Linked DNA regions of Homo sapiens: all the other regions are linked to region 2. The links are contacts of gene promoters, found by promoter capture Hi-C in human tissues and cell types (Jung and others, 2019). All regions are on one chromosome and are shown on one strand. Each heading gives the region's core, a stretch centred on a gene start or on the middle of the fragment in contact. The rest is flanking DNA. Distances are from core to core; before and after follow the strand shown. Region 1 holds the start of RPS15 (ribosomal protein S15). Region 2 holds the start of PTBP1 (polypyrimidine tract binding protein 1). Region 3 holds the start of NDUFS7 (NADH:ubiquinone oxidoreductase core subunit S7).

Evidence for each region. The method cuts DNA at HindIII sites, captures the fragments that hold promoters and counts their contacts. A contact is called where the count stands out against the background at its distance.
Region 1: the fragment with the promoter of RPS15 here is called in contact with the fragment with the promoter of PTBP1 in region 2 in 2 of the 25 tissues and cell types used here (heart left ventricle and spleen).
Region 3: a contact is called between the fragment with the promoter of NDUFS7 here and the fragment with the promoter of PTBP1 in region 2, in 1 of the 25 tissues and cell types used here (dorsolateral prefrontal cortex).

The regions. Positions count from the first base shown.
Region 1 is chr19:1,436,037-1,439,645 of GRCh38, forward strand. It overlaps RPS15 (ribosomal protein S15), which reads left to right and starts at 2,360. Exons shown (of 4, transcript NM_001018.5): 1 at 2,360-2,392; 2 at 2,771-2,856. The coding sequence starts at 2,390. RefSeq lists enhancers at 2,105-2,975, 2,384-2,603. The HindIII fragment of the contact is 20,902 bases long and covers 1-3,609 here.
Region 2 is chr19:795,020-798,996 of GRCh38, forward strand. It overlaps PTBP1 (polypyrimidine tract binding protein 1), which reads left to right and starts at 2,433. Exons shown (of 15, transcript NM_002819.5): 1 at 2,433-2,486. The coding sequence starts at 2,479. RefSeq lists enhancers at 1,552-2,187, 1,840-2,179, 2,386-3,271, 3,272-3,977 and silencers at 2,092-2,446, 2,210-2,559, 2,570-2,749, 2,820-3,129. The HindIII fragment of the contact is 37,831 bases long and covers 1-3,977 here.
Region 3 is chr19:1,382,237-1,385,835 of GRCh38, forward strand. NDUFS7 (NADH:ubiquinone oxidoreductase core subunit S7) reads left to right here and starts at 1,671. Exons shown (of 8, transcript NM_024407.5): 1 at 1,671-1,706. The coding sequence starts at 1,691. TRF-GAA1-6 (tRNA-Phe (anticodon GAA) 1-6) reads right to left here and starts at 1,198; the gene lies at 1,126-1,198. TRN-GTT2-6 (tRNA-Asn (anticodon GTT) 2-6) reads left to right here and starts at 1,327; the gene lies at 1,327-1,400. RefSeq lists silencers at 1,041-1,170, 1,351-1,490, 1,741-1,800. The HindIII fragment of the contact is 12,722 bases long and covers 1-3,599 here.

The sequences.
Region 1 (3,609 bases), core at 1,110-3,609, 640 kb after region 2:
TCACTGTGGCAGGGAAGGCGAGACTTAAAAAGGGCCGGGCGCGGTGGCTCACGACTGTAATCCCAGCACTTTGGGAGGCCGAGGCGGGCGGATCACCTGAGGTCGGGAGTTCGAGACCAGCCTGACCAACATGGAGAAACCCCGTCTCTACTAAAAATACAAAAATTAACCGGGTGTGGTGGTGCATGCCTGTAATCCCAGCTACTTGGGAGGCTGAGGCAGAAGAATCGCTTGAACCTGGGAGGCGGAGCTTGCAGTGAGCCGAGATTGCGCCATTGCACTCCAGCCTGGGCAACAAGAGCGAAACTCCGTCTCAAAAAACAAAACAAGAAAAAAAAAGGACCATGAAGTCCCAAACTGGAAGCCTACAGCGTGCCAGGCGTGAGACTGTTCAGGCGACAGCCAGAACCACCCCCCCCCGCCCCAGTTCATATTTTGGGGACAGGGAAGGTTTGACTTAGTTTGGAGAGAACCAAGAGAAGGGGTACCCCCAACATCCCTGTGCAGTGCAGTTTCCTCACTGAGACAGTACCCCTCAACGCCTCAGCCCAGGAAGCCAGCTCCATTCCCTGCCGTCAGAGCCTTCTCCCATGTCCTCAGGAGCTGCTGCCCCAGCTCCCAGGAGGGCCAGGCGGGGGCGGCTGTCTATCCACACCACAGGTCATCATGGTGTTGAGTGTCAGCCCCTCCCGTTACATTAGCTCCCCCAGCCAAAGAGCAGCACTCACAAAATCAGCTTTCCAGCCAGGACACTCTGCTGCAGGAAAATGGGTAACATGGACGGGCCCGACACATAGGTCCTGTGCTCCTCGGGACGGAGACTCAGCCCTCCCTGAGTACAGTGTAATTGGCTTCCCTTGGGACTGTGGGGACGGCTGGGGAGAGCTCAGCTCCCTGGACAGTGCCACAGCTAAGCTCGGGTTCCCAGAGGTTTTGTGCTTTTTTTTTTTCTTTTTCTTTTTTTTTTTTTTTTTTTTTTTTGAGAAGGAGTCTCTGTCGCCCAGGCTGGAGTGCAGTGGTGCGATCTCAGCTCACTGCAACCTCCGCCTCCCGGGTTCAAGCGGTTCTCCTGCCTCAGCCTCCCAAGGAGCTGGGATTACAGGCACCCACCACCACGCCTGGCTAATTTTTTGTATTTTTAGTAGAGTTAGGGTTGGTCAGCTTGGTCTTGAACTCTTGACCTCAGGTGATCCGCCCGCCTCGGCCTCCCAAAGTGCTGGAATTACAAGCATAAGCCACCACGCCCAGCCAGGTGCCACATCCATAGTTAATAGTCACCTTCAACTTTATACTTAATTCCAGTAAGATACAGAAACATCACTCCTAGGCCAGGCGCGGTGGCTCACGCCTGTAATCCCAGCACTTTGGGAGGCCAAAGCGGGTGGATCACCTGAGGTCAGGAGTTCGAGACCAACATGGCCTGGCCAACATGGAGAAACCGTGTCTTTACTAAAAATACAAAATTAGCCGGGCACGGTAACAGGTGCCTGTAATCCCAGCTACTTGGGAGGCTGAGGCAGGAGAATCGCTTGAACCCAGGAGGCAGAGGTTGCAGTGAGCCGAGATCACACCACTGCACTCCAGCCAGGGCAACAAGAGTGAAACTCTGTCTCAAAAAAAAAAAAAAGTCACTCCTACATAGTTCTAGTTACTCCTTCTCTTTGAGCTATCATTATTCACATTACATTTACATATCTTAACAAACCCAGTGATATTCCTAACTTTATTTTTGAGGCAGGGTCTTGCTCTGTCGCCCAGGCTGGAGTGCCGTTGGCGCGATCACGGCTCACTGCAGCCTTGACCTCCTGGGCTGAAGGCTCAGCCTCCCGAGTAGCTGGGAATTTTTTGTACTTTTTATTCTTTTATGTCCGTGTGTACACAAATTTTTGTATTTTTTTGTAGAGAGGCAGTCTCACTGTGTTGTCCTTACTAACTTTATATACAAAATTTTATCTGTTAAAGCCGGAATGGTTCTTTTCAGCGAGGCCCTGTCCCTGCTCCAGTATCTGTAATGAATTCTCGTGTTCCTCCCACAGTGGGACCTGAACCGCCAAACCGCACCTACGAGCAAACGGTAGGCGCTCCATAAATACTTGTTGATGTGGGTGCCATCGTGTAGATGACGGAGCACGAACCCGAGGCTCAGACAGGGGCGGCGACTTGTCCAAAGTCCCACTCCGTGGAGGAAGCGGCTCTGCAGACCTCAGGCGGCGGCTGCTCTAATCCCTGCAGCCTGTGTTTTGCCCTCCAGACGGCAGAGGGCGCGTGTTCGCCGCCGGGAAAGCGGAAGCGCGTGTGCGCGCACGGCCGAGGGGGCGGGACATGCCGGCAGTCTCGCGATAACTGCGCAGGCGCGGACCAAAGCGATCTCTTCTGAGGATCCGGCAAGATGGTGAGTGTTGCGATTTGGCGCGTCTCTGCCGGGCCTATCCGGCTCCATCCAACCTCTGACCGTCTCGCGGGGGCCGCAGTTCGTCCCCGCGGCTACGGCGGCTTGCTCCCGACCCTGCAGGCGGCTGGATGTTGGGGCGAGGGGCGGACTTGGTGGGTGTCGGGACGACGCGGGGCTGGGAAGGCCTGTCCGGGCCTTCATGTCCGGGTCCTCGTAACCCGGAGCCGCGAGTGATCCCCGGGGACGGGTCGAAGCGGTGTGTCCCTGTCGGGCTTCTGTCCCCGGCGGCGCCGCGCGTCTTCCGCGGTGTCCTCGGGCCCGGTGGCCCCGGGAGATGGGTGTCGGGATCCCGCTGACGCCCGATCCGCGCCCGCACAGGCAGAAGTAGAGCAGAAGAAGAAGCGGACCTTCCGCAAGTTCACCTACCGCGGCGTGGACCTCGACCAGCTGCTGGACATGTCCTAGTAAGGGCGGCCGCGGGGGTCGCGGGCAGGGGCTGGGCCAGCGGTGGGGCTTGTCCGGGTGAGGGCGGCGGGGCGGGGGTCCAAGCGCCTCTGCGGCGGTGGGCGGGCACGGTCTCCGCGCGGGTTTGGAACTGAGTGTGGTCTTGCGCCCAGAAAACTGTCCAGAGACGTTGAGGTTTTTGCTTATTTGCAACCTGCCCCCCGTTGTTCACTTTTCCGCGGCTTAGTTGGAAGGTGTAGCCCCTGTCTGTAGCCCACGTGACTTAGAATAAGGGGCTGCGTTAGACTCCTTAGATTTTAAGGGCGGTGGAGGTCGCTGGGTCCTTTCCAGGCAGGGTGGTGGTGGGCATCTGGCTTGCGCTTTTATTTTTTAATTTTTGATTATTTTGAGGCGGAGTCTCATCCTGTCGCCCAGGCTGGAGTGCAATGGCTCCGTCCCAGCTCACTGCAGCCTCCCACTCCCGGGTTCAAGCGATTCTCTTGCCTCAGCCTCTCGAGTAGCTGGGATTAGAGGGCCCCCCCACCACGTCCGGCTAATTTTTGTATTTTTAGTAGAGACGAGTTTCAGTGTTGCCCAGGCTGGTCTCAAACTCCTGACCTCAGGTGATCCACCTGCCTCGGCCTCCCAAAGTGCTGGGATTACAGGCGTGAACACCGCGCCCGACCTTGATTTTTGATTATTTGTGGAAACAGCGTTTCTCTGTGTCGTCCAGGTTGGTCTTGAACTCCTGGGCTCAAGCGACCCTCCCGCCT
Region 2 (3,977 bases), core at 1,183-3,682:
GATGGCCTTGGGTTTATACTTTGAGCAAGACAGGAGGCCTGGCGGGGCCACGATCAGAAGTGGGTTTTAACACGATTCCGAAGGGTTAGACTGGTGCTTGGAACCTGGTGGTCTCTACTGCTGCCAGCTGCCACTCAGACCCCCGGCCGCCCCTGCCTGTCTGCTTTCAGGGCGGGGCCCATCCCAGGCACTCCGCGAACAGACAGAAGCGGCTGGTTCTGGTGGTGTGAGGATGGGGGTCTCCAGGGGAGCAAATCCACAGTAACACACTGGGCTTCTCCCAGATCCACCGGACATTCCTGATGAGTGACCCTGGCTGCAGATGGCTCTTGGTGAGTCTCCGTTGACCGGGTGGTTCGGGCCAAAGGACCTTGCCGTGCGATGCCTCCATGGAGCTCGGCGGCCACCCCTAATCCGGGCTGGAATCCTCTGGCACCAGACGCCCGGCGGGGCTCCAAGGCTCCTGGGCCCACGCCAGGCCCCGGCCTGAAACGCAGCACTGCTGGAATAAAACACGCCAGAGAAGCAGGGCGCTAGGCTCGCCTGGATTTGGGGAAACGAGAATTGTCATGTCTTCTCCCTCCGTAGGTTGGTGTTAATGAAAAACCCCCTTTTCAGCATGGACTAAATCCCGCTAATTCTATTTAGGGAGCAGTGTCTACTCCGGGCCGGGAACTGCTCCGGTTTCCAACCGCAGCCTCCCGTGAGGGTCCCAGTGTGGAGGGCCGGGGTCATCCCCTCACTCTGGGATGGCTCCCAACCCGCTGACCTGGCCTCCCCGTCAGGCACCCTCACAGCTCTGTCAGACTCTTCATGTGATCAGCGCTCCTGGGAACATTAGTTTAGGGTGTTTTCTGCTGCTGGGATGGTGGCCCGGGAGGGACCCTCCTGGTGACCCTGCTGGGCCTGGCCCTCAGTTTCCCCAGCCGTAGGCTGGCAGCCTCGAACTGTACGAGCTCCAGGCCACAGTTTCCCCAGCTGTAGGTCAGTGGGCCAGGGACTGTAGGGGGCTCGGGCCTCAGTTTCCCCAGCTGTAGGCGGGTGGCTTGGGCCTCAGTTTCCCCACCTGTAGGCGGGCGGCCTTGGATTGTATGGAGCCCGGGCCTCAGTTTCTCCAGCTGTAGGCGGATGGCCGTGGACTGTGTGTGGCCTGGGCCTCAGTTTCCCCCGCTGTAGGCAGATGGCCGTGGACTGTGTGTGGCTTTGGCCTCAGTTTCCCCAGCTGTAGGCGGATGGCCGTGGACTGTGTGTGGCCCGGACCTCAGCTTCCCCAGCTTTAGGCGGTTGGCCGCGGACTGTGCAAAGTCCAGGCCTCAGTTTCCCCAGCTGTAAGCGGGCGGCCGCCCACTGTACAAGGTCCAGGCCTCAGTTTCCCCAGCTGTAGGTGAGAGGCCGCGGACTGTACAAGGTCCAGGCCTCAGTTTCCCCAGCTGTAGGCGGGCGGCCAAGGACTGCAAGGTCCAGGCCTCAGTTTCCCCACCTGTAGGCGGGCGGCCGCGGACTGTACAAGGTCCAGGCCTCAGTTTCCCCAGCTGTAGGTGAGAGGCCGCGGACTGTACAAGGTCCAGGCCTCAGTTTCCCCAGCTGTAGGCGGGCGGCCGCCTACTGTATAAGGTCCAGGCCTCAGTTTCCCCAGCTGTAGGCGGGCGGCCGCGGACTGTACAAGGTCCAGGCCTCAGTTTTCCCAGCTGTAGGCAGCCGGCCGCGGACTGTGCGGGGCCCGGACCTCAGTTTCCCTATCTCCGCAGTCGGGATTCGCTGTTCCGGGGCGAACAAAGAACGGTCGGGGGTGACCCCGGATCATGGCGCGCCCGCAGTATCTGTGGCCACTGTGGAAACAGCCCTGGCGTGTCCGGGACGCGACGCGGCCTTTCCCTCCCCGCGCGATCACCCAGATGTGAGCGCTCAGTTTGAATCGGACTTTTTGGCCATGTGCCCACAACCAACATGGAGCCCTGAGGGTTTCCTGCCCGACTCCAAGATGGCGATGCGACTCCCTTTGCCCTCACGGCCCAGGCGGGCGGGTCCTGCCCACTTGCAAGATGGCGGCAGCCTGGGCAAAGCACGCTTCCCGCCGCCTGACTCGCCACGTACCCACTCTCAAGATGGCGTCTCCCGCAAAGCCACGCGCCAGCTGACTGGCTCAGACGCCGTCACGTGATCCCATTTTCTCCCCCTCCCCCGACTACACAAGCCGTTTCCGCCTTCGGCCTTGAGGAATAACCGCCTCCCCCAATAGGCGCCTGCGATTTCTCTGGGTCCCGCCCCCGGGCGGCCTTCTGGCCAGTGGGAGGTGCTGGCGGGGGCCCGCGGGGCTCTCCCCGCCCCCTGGCTGCAGCGGGAGCCAATGGGCAGCGCGCGCGGGGGACGTGTGCGGGCGTCTCCGCCATTTTGTGAGTCTATAACTCGGAGCCGTTGGGTCGGTTCCTGCTATTCCGGCGCCTCCACTCCGTCCCCCGCGGGTCTGCTCTGTGTGCCATGGACGGGTGAGTCGCACGTCGCCCCGCGCCCCACCGCCCTCCCCGCGCCGCAGCCCTGCCCCCGCCGCCGCGCCGGCCTCCCCGGGGCCGATCTCGCCCCCTCTCGGGCGGGAGGGGGCGGCGGGCTCTCCCCTTCCTCTCCGCGTGGCGGGCGCGGGTGCGGGGCGGGTCAGGGGCTTCCCGGGGGTCTGGCCGCGTCCCCATCCCCCGTCCGGCCCGCTTCCGGCCCCCGCGCGCCCCGTCCCTAGCGCACGCGGCCTCCCGCGCCCCTCCCCCTCCGCGCGCGTCCCCGCACTTCGCCTTTGCCCCGCCTCGGCGGCGCGCGGCCCTTCCCGCTTCCCGTCCGGCCCTCGCGCGCCCGGATGGCCCTTCCCGCCTCCCGTCCGCTCCCCTCGTGCGCCTGCGTAGCCCGTCGCGCGTCCCCGTTGGCCCCAGCGCGCGTGCGCGGCCGCCATCGGGGGCGCGCGCCTTTCCCGCCGCCCGGACTCTGCCCCCGGCGCAGCCCCGGAAGCGCAGGCGGGGCTGGGGCGGCCGCCGGGAGGGAAAGCTGGCGCCGGGGCCTCGCCGCGGGCCCGAGTCTCTGCGCTCCCCGCCCTACCCCTGCCCCCCGTGCGCCCCGGGCCGCGGCCAAGGGGTTTCGGTGATCTCGGGAGAGAAGCGGCCGCCCCGAGGGTCTGTCCTCCGCCCCGGGGCCGGAGGGGCCTCTCCAGGGACCCCCGCGGGCGCCGTCATGGGGAGGGGCCTTCCCGGCTCTCGGGCCGGGGCAGCCTTTCCGGGCGGCTTTGCTGGGCGGGCTTCCCTTGGGAGAGGTGGGAGCCCCCTCCAGAAAGGCCGTGTCCCGCCGAGCGCTTCCTGCGCGAGGCCCTCCCTGGGAATAGGAAGCGGGAGAGGCTGGAGATGTTTCGCATTCTTTCCGTTTTCCTGAGAAGTTTTTCTTGGGTTCAGTCACTTTTAAAAGTCTGTTAAACGTGGTCCGTGCAGTCTGTGGTGTCAGAAGAGGCGCAGCCCTAGAGTGGGTCTGGACCCCTTAGCATGCGTGCGGGCAGGTGGGTCCTGCAGACGGCGAGACGAGGGCTCCCCGCTCTCGGACCCAGCACCGCGGGCTCGGGGGCCGCGCACTCGCCTCCCGGAGTGAGGCAGGAGGCCCGGAGGCTGCCCTTCCGACGGACGCTCCGAGTCACTTAGGGCCTCGCCGGGAGTTGCAGTGGCCGGGAGAAGCCGTGGGGAGCTCACTGTTGGGTCAGGACCTGGCCGGGGCTGAAGGGAGGGCCTCGGACAGTCCGGCTTTCTATCCACCTTCCCCCCGGGGTGTCCCGAGGAGGGAGAGTCGGGTCGGGCGGGGCTCGGGTTGATCAGTAACTGAGGCTGTGTTCTGGTCGGTCTGTTAATTTTTATTGACGGTTTCCACGGCCGCCTCCTGCTCTCCTCGGTGGATCGGGCTCCACTCTGCTGAGAGGCACCCTCTTGGGGGCCCACCCCTACCCGGGTGGAAGCTCT
Region 3 (3,599 bases), core at 421-2,920, 590 kb after region 2:
CAAAAAATAAATAAATAAAAATAAAACCAAAACCCTACAGCACGGGCAGCTATGAGAACTAGAGAAGGAAGAGGGTTTTGTGCACCTGCCAGCCTCTTAGGTTCTTGTCAGCTTTTCCCCCAAGTCTTTATTATTATTATGTATTGTAGAGATGGGGTCTTGCTATGTTGCCCAGACTGGTCTCAAGCTCCTGGCTTCAAGTGATCCTCCTGCCTCGGCTTCCTAAAGTGCTGGGATTGCAGGTGTGAGCCACCATGCTGGGCCCCTCCAATCCTTTTGAGCTGCCCAAGAACAGAGACCAGGCCTGGCTTTGCTCAGCAGTGGGTCCCCAGCCCATGGCACGAATTCAGTAAACACTTGTTGTGGTCCTCAAGGGGCCCCCAGTCTTGCTAGTCACCTGTGTTCACCTAATTTGAGCCTCTGTTTTCTTTACTTTTTCTTTTTCTTTTTTCTTTTTTTTTTTTTTTTGAGATGGAGTCTCACTCTGTCGCCCAGGCTGGAGTGCGGTGGCACGATCTCAGCTCATTGCAACCTCCGCTTCCCGGATTCAAGTGATTCTCTTGCCTCAGCCTCCCGAGTAGCTGGGATTTAGATACAGGGTTTCACCATATTGGCCAGGTTGGTTTTGAACTCCTGACCTCAGGTGATTTGCCTGCCTCAGCCTCCCAAAGTGCTGGGATTACAGGCGTGAACCACCGCACCGGCCTTTGCCTCTGTTTTTGTAATCATAAAACAGGCAGACAAAACCTCCAGTGGAATTGTGAAAATTAAATGATATGCATGCAGAAAGCGTTCTGCAAACTCTGTTTTGCTAGTTTGGGTGTTTAGTGTTAGTTTTTATATCATTAGTACTGGTTGTAAACTTATCAATTTAAGCAAGATGGAAAATCGAGGGTGTGTCAGGGAAGGGGGAAGTTTGAGCTGAAATTATGACCTCTTAGGGGTGGGAAGAGGAGGCTTTGGGGTTGTGAGGTCTGAGCCCCCTTACTTTGGGATGAGTCCACATCGCGGCGACTCCTCTGCAGAATGCGGTGATGTTGCGGTAAGGGGTCCGGGATAGCTGCGAGGCAGCTGGACCAATCCTGAACGAAAGACATCAGTGATCGCAAGAGGCGCTAAAACTTCTGCCGAAACCCGGGATCGAACCAGGGACCTTTAGATCTTCAGTCTAACGCTCTCCCAACTGAGCTATTTCGGCTGGGCGGCAGAGTCGCTCTCGCCGGGACTCCGTCCCGCGCTGCGCCTTCCCTGCGCAGGCGCAGTCGTTTCGCGTCAGCAGGCCCCACATCCTTTGTAAGGTCTCCCAGGGCGCCGGAGCGCAGTGTCGTCTCTGTGGCGCAATCGGTTAGCGCGTTCGGCTGTTAACCGAAAGGTTGGTGGTTCGAGCCCACCCAGGGACGCGTGGTGACTTTTGCCCTCCTGGAATAACAAGAAAATGAGTGTCGCCTCTGTTTTTGTCGGTCCGCCGCAGACCCGCGGCCCCCACGTGCGCACTCCGATGACCTTTCCGCCTCGGGTGATCTGGGGGTGCACGGCGCAACACGACCACGGAGGCCGAAAGCGCAGCGGAACCTCCCGGCTCCAGGTTCCGGTTTCCGCATGCGCTCCGAGCCGCTTTGGGCGGCGGCCCCGGGAACCCGGAGCGCTAAGGAGAACGGACCTCAGAGGTTGTCTGAAGGCCGAGGCCAAGATGGCGGTGCTGTCAGGTGAGCGCGGCACCGGCGGCGGGTGTGGGGCCGCGCGGGTCTGGGGCCGTGGGAGCCTCGGGTGTCGTGGTGGCGTCGGGGGTCGGTGCCGGCGTCGTGGCCGCGGTCCTCTCCGGGCTTCTCCGAGCCGGCCGCTCCTCGGGCTCCCCGCCCGGCTTGCGATGAACGGTCGCCGTTATTGCGTCCAGAGTACAGTCGGGGAAACCGAGGCCCGGTAGGTCATGACGCAAGCCTCCAGCCTCAGGAAGGCGCTCGGGGTGGAGGCTGGAGGGGCCCCATTCACGTCCCCGAGACCAGGGCACGGCCCGCGAGGCTGCTCTTGAGATGCCCTGGAGAGAGCGGGGCCTGCCTGACAGGCTGGGAAACTGAGGCCCATTGAGGGTCTTCGAGGTCACAGGGCCGGGCCTGGGAAGGAACAGGACCCAGGACATCCACGCCACCCTGCTGGACCCTCCACCTCCCTCCCCACCCCTGGGAGGTAAGGGCCTCTCGCAGAGCCTGTCCTGCTCCAGGGACTTTTTTGGGATCAGCTGAAGCCTGCGGACCTCTGCTCAGATAAAGTTATTAAATGCATGGAATAAAATCCATAGAATTGCAAGGAAATCAGTTACACGGAGAGGCAGTTATTAAAAGATTGTCTTGAAACCTGATTGGCGACTTAGTAATCTAAGTGCTTCCCTTATGAACGCGATCTAGCGGCAGGTCTAATTGCGACTGTGATTTGGAAGGAGTGAGGAGTGGAAATGAGGCTTTGATGATACGGAAACGTCTGCAGCCCCTGCACCATAGCTAGGAAACATCTGTGATTCCGCTTGGTGAAAAGTTACAGGTCCTGCTAATACTGCCGTATTTTGTTGTCTATGCTAAGAATTTTTTATTTATTTATTAAGACAGGGTCTGCCTCTGTCGCTCAGACTGGAGTGCAGTGGTGCCATCTTGGCTCATCACTGCAACCTGTGCCTCCCAGGCTCAAGCGATTCTGGCACTTCAGTGTCCTGTGTAGCTGGGACCACAGGTGTGCGCCACCATGCCTGGCTAGTTTTTGTATTTTTAGTAGAGATGGGGGTCTTGCCCTGTTGCCCAGGCTGGTCTCGAACTTCTGAGTTCAAGCAATCCTCCCACCTGAGCCTCCCAAAGTGCTGGGAGCCACGGCACCCAGCCTACGCTAAGAATTGAATGAAGGGCTAATTTTCCATAAGATGCTGGTGACAACAAAGACATATATATTTTTTTATTCCAAGCAAATTCACAGTTCTGAATCCTCACCAGGCCCCTTGTTAAGAATGCCTGGCCCACGCGCGGTGGCTCACGCCTGTAATCCCAGCACTTTGGAAGGCCAAGGTGGGCGGATCACCTGAGGTCCGGAGTTCGAGACCAGCCTGGCCAACATGGAGAAACCCCGTCTCTACTAAAAATACAAAATCAGCTGGGTGTGGTGGCGCATGCCTGTAATCGCAGCTACTGGGGGGCTGGGGCAAGAGAATCGCTTGAACCCGGGAGGCGGAGGTTGCAGTGAGCTAAGATTGCACCATTGCACTCCATCCTGGGCAACAAGAGTGAAACTCCGTCTCAAAAACAAAAACAAAAACAAACCAGCTGGGCGTGGTGGCTCAGGCCTGTAATCCCAGCACTTTGGGAGGCCGAGGTGGGCGGATCCCCTGAGTTCGGGAGTTCAAGACCAGCCTGATCAACATGGAGAAACCCTGTCTCTACTAAAAAATGCAAAATTAGCTGAGCGTGGTAGCAGGCGCCTGTAATCCCAGCTACTCGGGAGGCTGAGGCAGGAGAATAGCTTGAACCTGGGAGGTGGAGGTTGCAGTGAGCCAAGATTGTGCCGTTGCACTCCAGCCTGGGTGACAAGAGCGAAACTCCGTCTCAAAACAACAACAACAA